Regions from separate parts of the Homo sapiens genome. Here regions 1 and 3 are each linked to region 2. Evidence: promoter capture Hi-C in human tissues and cell types (Jung and others, 2019). All regions are on one chromosome and are shown on one strand. Each heading gives the region's core, a stretch centred on a gene start or on the middle of the fragment in contact. The rest is flanking DNA. Distances are from core to core; before and after follow the strand shown. Region 1 has its middle 270 kb from the start of LINC02290. Region 2 holds the start of MAX (MYC associated factor X). Region 3 has its middle 40 kb from the start of LINC02290.

Evidence for each region. The method cuts DNA at HindIII sites, captures the fragments that hold promoters and counts their contacts. A contact is called where the count stands out against the background at its distance.
Region 1: a fragment that was not itself captured here is called in contact with the fragment with the promoter of MAX in region 2 in 1 of the 25 tissues and cell types used here (dorsolateral prefrontal cortex).
Region 3: a contact is called between a fragment that was not itself captured here and the fragment with the promoter of MAX in region 2, in 1 of the 25 tissues and cell types used here (dorsolateral prefrontal cortex).

What each region holds. Positions count from the first base shown.
Region 1 is chr14:65,840,473-65,844,847 of GRCh38, forward strand. No RefSeq gene overlaps it. Among named protein-coding and RNA genes, the nearest start is that of LINC02290, 270 kb to the right of the region's middle. The HindIII fragment of the contact is 4,634 bases long and covers 1-4,032 here.
Region 2 is chr14:65,101,235-65,105,482 of GRCh38, forward strand. MAX (MYC associated factor X) reads right to left here and starts at 1,283. Exons shown (of 5, transcript NM_002382.5): 1 at 1,070-1,283; 2 at 312-338. The coding sequence starts at 1,105. RefSeq lists enhancers at 354-854, 1,548-1,697 and a silencer at 868-1,217. The HindIII fragment of the contact is 28,413 bases long and covers 1-4,248 here.
Region 3 is chr14:66,068,755-66,073,568 of GRCh38, forward strand. No RefSeq gene overlaps it. Among named protein-coding and RNA genes, the nearest start is that of LINC02290, 40 kb to the right of the region's middle. The HindIII fragment of the contact is 3,840 bases long and covers 1-3,206 here.

The sequences.
Region 1 (4,375 bases), core at 466-2,965, 740 kb after region 2:
AGCTACTTGCTGGATCACACAGCTATCGCCAGACTCCCAGCACCAAAGCTCACACCCTTACCCCCTGCAGTCTGCTGCCTCCCTCCCCAGTCCTTGGTGCTAAGGGCCTCCCAGTGCAGATAAGGCTTGCAGAAGACAGCGGCTGAAGGGCTGCCTTGGCCCTGTTCTCGAGTTTGCTCCTCAGGGCTGGGTCTTGGTGCTGGGAATTCAGAAGCTCTGTTACCAGAGTATCTATGGGGGATTGATCCCAGGGAAAGAATGCCTATTGATCTCACAAGAGGATTCAAGACCTCCACAAGCAGATGTTAGTATACAGGGGGACCCGTTCCAGCCACCTGCATGGTAATCCTCCTGGCAGGTGGTCTGCCCAGGAGACCACACAACATGGCAGATAGGGAAGTTGCTCAAAGGACATTTCCACTGGCAAACAACTCTTCTCTAGAGATCTCTCTGCCTGGTTTATGGATACCAGTCTTTGGAATTCAGAGTACTTTCTGTTTTGATGTTTGCTGGAGATGGTCCAGTGCATTCTTACTCACCAAGTTTTATTTTCCAGTATTCTTCCTTAGGCCTTAAACCTTCTGTTGTTACAACACTGCTTTGTGAAAACCATGGTGGAATTTCTGAGATTAGTTTTATTTCACACCAATACATTACAAATTCTGCCTTCCAAAGAAGAAACAGAAAGGGAATTGGATTAGGAGGCAGGAAAACCCAATGCCAGGCTCAGTTCAGCCCCAGTGAGCCTTATGGTTTTGGGCAAGTCAGCCCAATGAATGGGTTGGACTAGGGGTTGGTCCAGCCATTTCCCTTCCTGCCCAGATGCCCTGGCCTCGAAGAAGCTCAGCATGGACTCCCGTCTGGGGCTGAGATGAAGTGAGGCACGTGGCTGGGGAATGAGGGTAGCAGGGCTAATGGTGGGGGTGGGGCAATTGAACAGTTCCTGACAACCAATGAGTACACGTCCAGGCTTCTTCTGAGTGAAGAGCTTTTCATGGCTGAGGGCCCACCACTGAGTCCCGTTTGGAAGAAACCCACGGGGCCGATGGCGGAGGGTCCCGCTCTGAAGCACGCGGGAAATAAGGAGGAAGAGCCAAGATGAACAGCGTGGATGCTTTTCTGGTCACCTTCATTTCACTTCTAAGCCTCAAAGTTGGTCAAGGCAATTTATTTTTAACTTCCTTGTCATGGCAGGTGGATTATAAACTACCTTCTAGAAAAGTGATTGCCAACCTAAAAATCTGAGGTTTCAGGTCCCATCAGATATTCGAACTCTTTTCAGTATTTCAGAAAATCTCTTGGAAATTGTACATTTACACAGATAATGTATTTACTAACAAAAATGCCAAGTTTCTCTGCTCTTTGGTTAAAATGATACTATTAATTTGGTGTGATAACTCACACCTATAATCCCAGCACTTTGAGAGGCTGAGGTGGGTGGGTCACTTGAGCCCAGGAATTCGAGACCAGCCTAGGCAACACAGTGGGACCCCATCTCTACAAAAATAAACTTTTAAAGAAAGGATTATCCTATTAGTTCAGTGCGGTGACACTGGTGATCTCATGCTAATCTGAAGAGCTGATTGGCAGCCATTTATATTTTGAATAAGTAATAAGTAGGGAAAAGGTAATGACATACACTTATTTTTCTATCATTTACACTCTGTCCTACAAAGTAGATTGGAGTGCCTGGATTACTGCTTGAATTTTTAATTGTAGAACATTTTTCTTAACATTGGGGCCTTGGAGGAAAAACCTAAGGAAAGGAGTATGAGGAAATGAGGGGTTGGAGGGCTCTTTTGTGGTTCATTATCTCTCATCTAAAAGGTAAGTGGGGTCAGCAGAAGACATCTAGAGGCCATTTCATAAGGGGGAGATGTAGGCTTAGCTTCACAGATACCCTGCCAACTTGGGGGCACAGATAACTTCTCTCTACCCTCTAATAAAGCCACTACATGCTTTGTGTTTATCTGGGTTCTTTAACGGTGTCATTATATAAATTTGCAAGAACTGACTCAACTCCCAACCCCTCTCTGAAACTATACCCCATAGACCAGTCATCACTTGATTTTCTGAACGGCTGTGGCCATTTTTTCTCTACCATGTTTAGCAGGTAATTAGGCATTGCCTGGGTGTCCTCGCTAAATGTCCCTAGGTTGTACATCTCTCCTGAGACCTCATCATCGGGGTCTCTCAAATCTTTAGTAGCAGAAGATCTGAAACAGTGCCATAAATACCTTAGCATGATATAACCTTTACTATTTCAAAAATGCTGTAGTGGTCATCGCCACGCACAATCCCTACATCCATCAGGTGAGTTAAAAAGGAGGATGTTAATATCCTCATTCTACAAATGAAGAAATGGAGGCTCAGTGTGGTTAAGGGATCTATAGGCAAGTGGTGGGGCTGGAATATCAACCACTGATGTCTCATTTTCTTTCCACTGTGCTGCCTTTCTAGGTATTCAATTCCAGGTGCAGTGGCTTTTAAACTTTATCACCTTACTTTGGTAGGACTGCAACAAATATATTTCTCAGAGGATTCTAGTGGGTTCTGGTTGTTTCCATTGAATGGTATGGGGCCAGCCCAGGTAGCATTGAAAGTCATGCTGTGGATTTCTTTGTTTAGCAGACTTTATTTTTCCACCTGATACCTGGTCCAGCCAAGGACTGGAGAGCCTCTGACCCTACATTTCTGTTCTGCCAAGGGGACTGAAAACATAAAAGTCATGCTGGATGAATAGGGCTGCCCAGTAGGCAATGAGAAGCGAGGGCTTTTGAACAGGCAGCAATCTCCTTTTGCCTCACAGACCCCGGCTGCTTGTTGTTTGGCTGCTTTGTTTGTCTCTGTGTCACTTTCTCATCTTTTTGTAACCCTGCTGCATCCCTGAGCTCTGATGCTGGTTTCACCAAGGCAGCAGCTTCTACCCAAAGCCTCACTTCCCTTCTCAGTAGAGTCATGGGGCTGACCTGGAAGGAGGGGATTGATGCATCCTTCAAAGGCTACAAGTTCAGGCCCTGCCACTCCTGGGGCAGAAGCCCATTTCACCAGCCAAGAGGAGGATTTTAGCTACACCTGTAGGTTGACTGCCAAGTCTCAATCCCAGGACCCCTGACACACCAACACCCACCTGGGAGGCTGAGCAAAGAATCGCTTCTTTCTGAGGCAGCCAAGTGAATAGATGGTGGGAAGCATCTGCCTGAGAAATGCATTTCTCACAGTAAATAACATTTACATGATTGTGCCTGCAAATGTCACTGTGGCATTTGCTCAGTTGAATATGGTGCCTCTGCTCTCCTGACCTTCCCCTGGCTCCAGGCCCACGATGCTCCTGGGGTCCAGGAACCCCACCTTAGGGAGGGATGCTCCCCTCAGCTCTGTCCTCTGAGGGAGAGACATTTCCTTCTTGACTTGGCAGATGTGTCTCTAGTACACATAGCATCTGGGTTTTGAGTTAATTTTGATTCAAGCGGTCCATGTGGAGACCATGACAGTGAGGATTTTCTTGATGACCCCTTACATTTTCTATTTTCTGCCTCTCATAAGCTGCAACCCTCATGCTGATAGGTCTTTTCCATCTATTTTTTCACTGTATTGCTATGGCACTGTGCCATGTGTGCAAGCTTCCCCGCTTTGTCTTGTAAATGTGCATTGTCTCCTTCCAAAGATGGTCAGCTCCCAGAAGAGAGACCATACCTGTTATTACACTGAGTCATCCGTACACATAAATATGCTGTGCTTTTATGTTTATAAGATCTTATGAGCATAAAGAAATATATTGAAGGGTACGTATTAAGGTGTTAACATAGATTATCTGGGTGAGGGGTGGCTAATATAGATGGAAGAAGGAGGAGAGTAGGAAAGGGTGGTTAAGCACAAAACTACTACACTTACCCGCCGACCTCATGGAAAAAATGTATCCCTGGCACATCAGTGTGACTTTGAGGGCAAAAAAAAGCGAAAGCCAAGATGATGAATTTTTTGATCACATTTATGTGAAAATATACATATGTATATGTGTAAAGAGAGTCACAGAGTAGAATGAAGGAAGACCAAAAGAATACTGTGCACATAATAGACATTCAGTAAATATTTGGTGAATGAATGGATGCTGTGTGTGATAATTTTGTAGATTTGAAATTTCAAGCAGATAATTACTGGCTAATATTTATATTACATCCGCAATGCTCGCAGTGTGTTCTCGTAATCAGAATCACTAACGTTCTCTGGTTCATGGGTAGGGCTATCTGTCTGAGAGAGTCCCAGTTTACTCGATGGTTACCCTGTTCACCCACCAGAACTAGCTGGGGTGGTTGCTAAAGATGGAAATGACAGGGCCTCAACCCTGCTATACTGTCTCAGCATCATGGTGGGG
Region 2 (4,248 bases), core at 33-2,532:
ATGCTGCATTTCTCATTTCCACTTACATAGTGGCATCTGGATCCCCTATCTGAAAACTACAGAACAATTCAATTCTTTGCATACAGCTCCTCTTACTCACCTAGAATCACTGAACTTATCACCTGAGAATCTAGAATAATGGGATTTGCAACCCCCCCACCCTCCAGAACCAGGCCCCACCTCACCTTAGTGGTTAACATTAGAGTTTACTACAATATTAAAAGTAATAGTACGATCTCTTTTTCTCTCTGACCCCAAAAAGGAATAGAACTGAACGGAAATAAAAATGAAATGGAGAGTAGGAGACGTACCGCAGATTGAAACCTCGGTTGCTCTTCCTGGAATAAGAGAGAAAAAAAAAAATAGAAAATATAGAAGTTATTTTTACACTTAACATTCAATAATAAGAAAGAAAATGCCGGCGGCAGAGGAAGCGGAGGGTGGGGAGTCAGCCCGACACCCCTTCCTCCCTCCCCACCCCTTGCCCCCACCCTTCCACCCTCGGCGGGATCCGGTAGCAGGGTAGAGGGGTCCCGAGCGCCGCCCCTCCTTCCGGGATCCGACCTGGGCCAGAGGGGTCCCGAGCACTGTCTCCTCCCTGCAGACCCAGCTCGGGCATCTAGGCACCCCCAACCCCTCTCCGCCCTTCCCCGGCCCCCAGGATCCGCGGGTCACGGGAGGAGAGGATCGCAGTCCGAAGGGGCAGGTCCTGAACGCCGTCCCCTTCCCCTGGATCCGGACAATGGGATCCCGGGCGCCCCCCATCCTTGTCCCCCGGATCCTGAGCCGGGGAAGGTGGGAGCGGGAGGCCGCAGCACCCTCCCGCAAGGGAGGAGGTGGGGGTCCCAGAAGCCGCGTGTCTTCCCCCAACCTCCAGTCCCAGGAGGCCGCTCCGGCCAGGAGCCGGAGGGGAGCGAACCGGGAACGCGACGGAGGCACTCCTGGCCCCGAGGGGAAGGGGAAGGAGGCGGCGGCAGCCCGGCCCCCTCCCGCCGTCGCCCCGCTAAGAGCCCCGGCCGCTGTCCCCGCCTGACAACCCGCACGGGAAGGAAGAAGCCCCAGGACTCACGTCGCTCTCCACCTCGATGTCATCGTTATCGCTCATTTCCTACGGCCCAGGGAGCGGCCACTGCAGCGGCGGCGGGGAGGGGAAGGGGTGAAGGGGAGGGGGAAGTCACCGACAACAACAAGCCGAGTCCCCCCCACACACACACTCACTCACTCACTCACTCGCTCTCTCACTCACACACACACACAACACGGGCAAGAACCACCTCCTCACTGCAGCACCGGATCAACGGCGGCACGCACGCCCGGTCGGCCCCCGCCACGTGACCAGGCTCGCAGCGCTGGGGCAGCCGAGACTTGTAGTTCTTGTCCCTCTAACAGACGGCCCGGGTAGCTCCAGAAAAACTACAAATCCCGGAAGAAACCGCATCCAGGCGACGCCAGCCCGGCTTGTTGACGGAGCCCAAGGCGCCTGCGCGTCCCGGGGAGGGGGGGGGGGGCGGGGGGGGGCGGGGAGAGCCGCGGCGCGGCGCCTCCTGGGAGTCGTAGTCCGCAGACCGCGAGTTGTCAGGAGATTTTCCTCCCGAGGCGGCAGAGGAGGCTGCTGGGAAGACAGGACACGTGGAGGGAGCTGGAACTCCTGGAGCCGGGCACCGTCTGCGCGCTGGACGCCGGGCCCAGGGGACTGGGTGGAGTCTCTGGGGGAGTAGCCGGCTGTCTAAATAATGCTGCCTCTCTTTGGTGTGACTGGTTATACTTTGTCTTCTTCATACGGAGTGGTTCCGTTTTGCGCCTAGGGGCGTAACCCGCCCGGGAGGGAATCTGGCTGCGGCGGACCAGGGGGCGCGGCTCGGGATGCCTGCGCGAACCCTCGGGGGCTGGTGGGGAGGTGTCAGTGGCAGGTGTTTCGTGGTGCTACCGGACAGGCAGAATGACCGACCTCGCCGGGCGACCGCTCCCAGCCGCGAGAATCCTGTATTCGTTTATCTGGGAGTGACCATCCTCGCTACTCAGCTACTCACGTGAGGCTCCAGCGTTCACACAACGCGAACCCTCAACCACTATGGACGTGGAAGTAAAAGCCCCTTCAGAGTTTGTTGTAGCCCAGACAGTTTAGGCAATATCCCAGCTCAGAGTACCATAATTAAGATTGCAAAAAGGATCAATATGGGAAACTTTTGCAGTTCCCTGTCCAGTTAAAATCATATTTATATACTGTGGCATGAAGTGTAATCACATGCATTCCACCGATATTTATTGAACACCTAACTTGCCACAAGGGGATGCCATAACGGATAAGACCAAAACCATCCCTGCCTTCATGCAGCTCACAGCTGTGCAAGCAAGCGTGCCGGTCCTGCCGCCATTGTAAGAGTGTGCAACAAGTCCCATGGGAAGGAAGAAAACCATAACAGACACTTTCCACCCTGAGACAAAGTACCCATACTACTCCTTTACATCTGGTCTCCAAAGTGAATGACATCTTGAGCTTTTCCCATGAGTTACTGATTCCCGGATGAATACCATATTATCCCTGACTTTTGAATGTGGAAATTTGGGGATATGTCACACACAATTCTTGTGACACACATTCCTCAACGTGAGCATGTCATCTATGCTGAAAAGACAAATGTAAATGTGGTAATTTTTCCTTTACATTTTTTCCTTTAATATCTATTGTATTTCTTTCTCTCTCTCTTTTTTTTTTTTTTTTTTTTTGAGACGGAGTCTTACTTTGTCGCCCAGGCTAGAGTGCAGTGGCGCAATCTTGGCTCACTGCAACCTCCCTCTCCCGGATTCAAGCGATTCTCCTGCCTCAGCCTCCCGAGTAGCTGGGGCAGGCGCCCGCCACCGCGCCCAGCTAATCTTTGTATTTTTAGTAGAGACAGGGTTTCACCAACTTGGCCAGGCTGGTCTCGAAACTCCTGACCTCGTGATACACCCGCCTCGGCCTCCCAAAGTGCTCACGTGCTCACGCCTATAGCGTGAGCCACCGCTCGCGGTCTAATATCTGTTGTATTTCTTATTCAGTGATCCAGTCCTACTAAGTCTGCACATCTTTGCAAGTGAACTTACCTTTTCTACATGCTTTTGTCTCATAGTGTTCCTTTCCTGCTGAGTTGGGGAGACAGATATAAGCAGACCATTATGTGATAAGAGCTGATGGGCTATTGGGGAGACAGACGGCCACTTTTGAGTGAGTTAATTAACTGGATACTAGAAGTTAAAGCTAATTGATGATTACAACAGACAGTTCTTGGGTGCCTGCTATGAACAGAGCACTCTAGGGCAACCCCGGCTACAAGTTAAAATCATCCTAGGAGCTTAAAAAAGTTCCCATCCCCAGGCCACACCCCAAACCAATTAAGCCAGAACCTCTGAAGGGGAGATCCAGACTGAAGGATTTTTTTTTCCAGACTGAAGGATTTTTTAAAGCTCTTCCAGTAATTCCAGTGTGCACCCAAGACTGAGAACCACAGCTATAGACGATGCCAGAATAAATAAGATAGTTTCCCATTGAACTGTATGCTTTTAAAGAGTGAATTTTATGGTATGTCAATAACTATATTCCAATAAAACTGTTATAAAAGAAAAATAAGATAATCTTTACCCATGTGGAATTTAAAACCTGACAGGAGTAAATTATCAACTCAAATAATTGTGATGAAGACAAATTATGTAAGTGTCAAATTGTTTGTATAGACAGTGAATGCTGTAAGAGCTCAGAGGAGGAAGAAGGAGTGCCAGGTATGAGGTGGGGTTGGGGAGGTGTTGGTGACCAGGGAAGTCTTCTGAGGTTGTCAGTTGCATTAGGGTAAGGGCTGGGTCTGCAAAGGCCACGTAACATTTTGCTTATCGTGAATAACGTGGACTGAGGTGAGGAGGAAAGGCTTTCCTGGTAGGGAGACTGGAGATTTTAACACATCTCCTTTTAGGAATCAATAGAATATGAAGACCTGTCAACCTGATTAAGAAATTTGACCTAATAGACATAACACTGCACCCAACAGTTGTAGAATATGTTGTCTTCAAGCACTCATGGAACATTTACAAAAATTGACCATGTACTTAGCTATAAGGCAAATCTCAACAAGTGGTTTTTTTTGTTTTGTTTTGTTTTTTTGAGATGGAGTTTCGCTCTTGTTGCTCAGGCTGGAGTGCAATGGCGTGATCTCGGTTCACTACAACCTCCGTCTCCCGGGTTCAAGCAATTCTCCTGCCTCAGCCTCCCGAGTAGCT
Region 3 (4,814 bases), core at 37-2,536, 970 kb after region 2:
GCAGTTGTCCAGGGGCCTAGGACCAAGTGCTGGTGGTAGAGGTGAGCAGAGGAGTGCAGATCAAGGAGAGACTTGGATGACATCCTTAGGCTTTGGATATGGATTGGACATTGGTAAGGTGTCCAGGGAATCTCTTAGTCACTAGGCTGGGCTGAAAATGGAGTGAGAGCTGGACAGGAAGAGAGGCAGTCACTTAGCTACAGATGTAGAAGAGATGCACCCAGAAAGAACACATGATGAAAACTAGGACAGTCTGCAGGGAGTAAGACTCACTTAGCAGTTAATTAAAGTAGGTGTCCAAACAGCTCTCAGTTATTTGCGTTATCCAATGTGTTAATTAGGGTTTGTTCCTCCTATTGCAATCTCTGGGCTTTGTTCATTTACATCTTCACCAGTAGGTGGTAGGAGAAGGGAAGCGGGACTTGGGGGACCCAGTTCACTTACTCAATGTATGCCTTGTGGAGAGATGAACACTAAGTGGCCTCATCTACTTGGAATGCCAGCTTATTGCAACTATTTGGCTTACAGAACAACAATCCTGTCCCTGAAGAGGAGAGCTGCATATAAATGCAGTTTACATATCCAGTAACTTTCTGCAACCATCCCTTAATGAATTAGTCAAACCTCCAGGCATCCAAATTGGTTCCTATGATCCTTTCATCTTCCAGGTTGTTTGCCTTTAAAGTTTAGAACTGGATTGAAGAGTATTTATAGCAATGGGACATTTTTGTGAGCCTGAGGAAAGGGGTCTTTGATAAATCAACACTAGAGAATTGTAGAAAAGGAATGCAGCCGGAGGAGTCTTTCAGGCAGGTTTGCAATGACTTCTTGTGCCGTCTTTTGGAAAGGTGCGAGGGCAGCAGCCACCCTGGGCTTGGAGATTGTGTGGAAAAGAGAATCCAAAACTACAGTAAAATTTTAATTGTATGCTTGATCTGTTTCAGGATGAAGAATTAAGACAGATTTAGGTTTCTGTTTTCTTCAGGGTTCGGGCAGGAATCAAACAGTACACTCAGAAGAGAAGGTTGAAGAGAAATGAATGAAGGAACTATTTCTAAGGCTGTGAGCAGGGAAAAGGGAAGCCAGTGAGGGATAGTGAAGCACAAACTATCCAGAAACCACCAACACCCCAAGGCATGAAATGAAAAGAGGAGAGAGTGGGTGGTTGTTTGTCCAAGTGTGGCAGGAAGCTGCCTTGAATCTGCAGAAGAATGGATCCACTGCCAACTACAGTTCAACCAGGAGAGATCCTGGAAGGCAAATTCCCAGACCTCAACCACAGGTGTCTCCCATTGGTCCACCCAAAGCAGAAACTGATGAGCCTGGAGCGCACTGACTCACCCCACAGGCAGCCTCCCGGGCACAGAGCAAGTTCAGAGAAAGGTGCAAAGTGGACACATGGGGGCAAGCAGAGAAAACCCAGCACATGGGTGGGCCAAGAAACTGGTTCAGATTTGCAAATCTAGGCAGATTAATATATTTATATGGGTCTGTGAGTTTCACTGCCAAGGCAGTCTTGGTTTCATAATGATACAGTATAGCGCATGTTGCTAGTATTAAACAACCAACGGAAGACAGAGCTGCTAGCCCGGGATGTGCCTGGGGTGAGGTGGGGAGGGAACTGTGCTGAACAGAGCTGTCTGTTGTTTCCTCGGTTTCCCCTCTGAAGTCAGCTGTGCCTCTGGCCACGGGGCTCTTTTGTTCTTCCTCCTCTCCCCACTCCTCCACCAAAGGAGACAGGGCTTGAATTATTGATGAAATCAAAAGAATAAGCTTGGGGATTGCATGTTTCCATCTTGCCTGTTGTTTGTCTGGTAAATAACGTGTTCTCTGTAAAACCTAAGCTTTTATCTCAGGTGTGCTGACCAGATTGAAGCCGGCCTCGAAGCTTCCCTTGGAGAAAGCCGGCTATGATCCTGGCTCACTCCAGTCTTCTCTCTTTCCATATGCAGATAAAAGAGTCCAACAGCACACTTTCCCCGTGGTTTCCCACACCACTGTGGAACACACGCAGAAACAGACTTTGCTCCTGGTCTTTTCCGTGACCAGATACATGCTCCCCTCCCCAAGACCTGCTAATTTCAGAGTAGTTACCTGTTCCCTTTGGTGAGGCAGGGAACCCTCAGGGTCCCAGTAGAGGAAGACCCGCTCAGACACTGCCCTCTGCTGGAAACTATTGGGACTGCTCCATCCTCCCTGAGGGGTCCTGCCGGGTTCCAGAGAAAGGGACCTTCACTCCTTCTACCTGGTTGCAGATACACCTGCAACATAGGTAGGGACTGACTTACCTAGAAAGCTTCTCTCATTAAGGTCTTAGACGAAAAAAATTTGAGTAGGAGGTGGGAGGATTTTTTATGATTTGATGTGGAAAAAGATTTCTAAACGACACGAGAAACAAAACACACACAAAAAACTGATACATTTGACTACATCAAAAACAAAAACTTTTGTGTGACAGAAGACAACATGAGCAAAATTAAAAGACAAAAGGAGAAAATACTTGTAACAAAGGATAAGTATCTAGATTATATAAAGAACCTCTACAGATTGAAAAGAAAACAAACAAAAATCCAACAGAAAAATATTCTAAAGATATAAAATTGTAATTCACAGAAAAGAAAATATAAGTGGCCCATAAGTGCATGACAATAATACTCTGTCTTACCAGTAATCAGGAAAATAGAAATTCAAACATCAGAGAGAGATTTTGTTTTAACCTGCTAAATTAGAAAAAATTAAAAAGGGCATGGGAGAAAAGATATTCTTTACTCTCTAGGTAGGATCATAAGCTGGTATAATCACTTTGCAGAGAAATTTGGCAATATCTAAAAAATGCAAAATATTCATACTCTGATCCAGTGAGTCCACTTCTCCATATCTACCCCAGAAAAACACTTTACCCATGTGCCCAGCAAGTTTGTGGCAGCTTTGTTTGCAAAATATCAAATGTTAGGTGCAGAAATAACTGAAATTAGCATAAAAATGGGGTTGGTTAAATAAACTATAATTCATTCATCATATATATATTTTATATATATTATTTATATATTATATATTATTTATATATTATATATAATATTTATATATATTAGATATTATATATAATATCTAATATATATAAAATACATAAATAATATATATTATATATATATAGCAGTGTTTTAAAATATATATACTATGTGTACTGACATGGAAAGATCCCCAAGACCTATTGTTGAGTGAACAAAAATCAAGCTGCAGACTGACACACCCTATGATAACTTATATGTAAAACACCCAGGCATATTAAACAATATTTTTTCTATGGGTATAGATACTATGGTCTTTAAAGCATGGAAAAATGCACAGGACGTATAACACTGATACCAAGAGTTACCTCTGGGGCAGAGATGAGGATTGGAGCTGGTGGTCAAAGGGGATTTCAGCCTTATCTGTAATTTTTTTTTTAGTAAAAAGAATGTGTTAATGTATTATATGTGTAATTAAAATTAATAAAAGCTATTCTTATATTAAAAAGGAGAAAAATCTCTCTTCCTCCTTATTAAAGCATCTGCAACAGCCAGGAATCATTGAGCTATGAGTAAAACGCTGCCTTAGGTGATTTGTCAGGGGACCTGCTAAGTAGAGGGCAATGTGGTTGTCCTGGAGACAGCTGTCTTCAACACAAACCATCCTGTGCATCTATCTACACATGTCGGATATGTAACCATATCCCATTCAATGTCATACTTTTAAATCTCGGTTCACAAACTCAACAGTAATAACTTCTAACACAATGAGAGCAGTCAGTATTAAAATCTAGTATCTCATTTAAACTTTTACTCTTTCTCTCTCCCCACCCCACCCCCAGATGAGTTTACTTAGATTTAGAGATGTTAAATAGCCTGTCCAAAGTCAGTTGACTAATATGTAAGAATTTTTCCTACCCCAGAGGCCATTCTTTTCAACCATTTAAACTATGTTACAAAGTGATAAACGCCTTTGTCAACTTCAGCCAGGTAAGGGAGGCTGAGGCAGGAGGATTGTTTGTGGTCAGGAGTTGGAGACCAGCCTAAGCAACACAGAGGAAACTCCATCTCTAAAAGAAAGAAAGAAATGTCAGTTTTCTGTCAAAAGCTTTTGTGGGTTTCCCTGCCTCACATGCCATGCCTATTTGCTGCATTGCTCTGAATCAAAACAGCAGCTGGTTCATTCTGGGAGAAAAATCTAGCATAAGAAGAGGTGTTATTTGGGTCCCAGTATAACTAAGAAGCTCAAAGACAAATACGCATTAAAGGAACAATTAAAAATTTAGGAATAATCCTCAACCAGAAGACTACTTCAAATGCATTAAAAATAAAGTTTAGGAACAAAACTAATCAATAATAGCAAAGGTGAAATTTCGATAATAATGCAAACCTTGCAAGGTTCTCATAGGATACAATTTGCTCCATTTTCCAAATTCTGCAAATTTCTTATATCAACACGAAATGCGTTCCAGTGATGCAGCCTTATCCTCACCACTGAGCCATTCCTGCCAGGCAAAAACAATGCAACTGAGCGGCATCAGAGATTACAGAGATATGGCCCTGGCAAAGGCCCACCAGCAGGGCTCTTGGGTTCCCTCTGAAGCAAAGAAAGGCAGCCCTCTGCTTGCTGGGGAAGACGGCTTTCAAAGGATGTTTCCAGAATAACTCATGAGTGGATGGGGGCACCAGGTTTACAAATGAGAGTTGTGATTTCCCACTTACAATGAATTTTTAAAAAATGAATTAATTCAAAAAAATGAATTAATCTCTGTTGGATTTCTTCTTAAGAACAGGTGTGTCTATGAA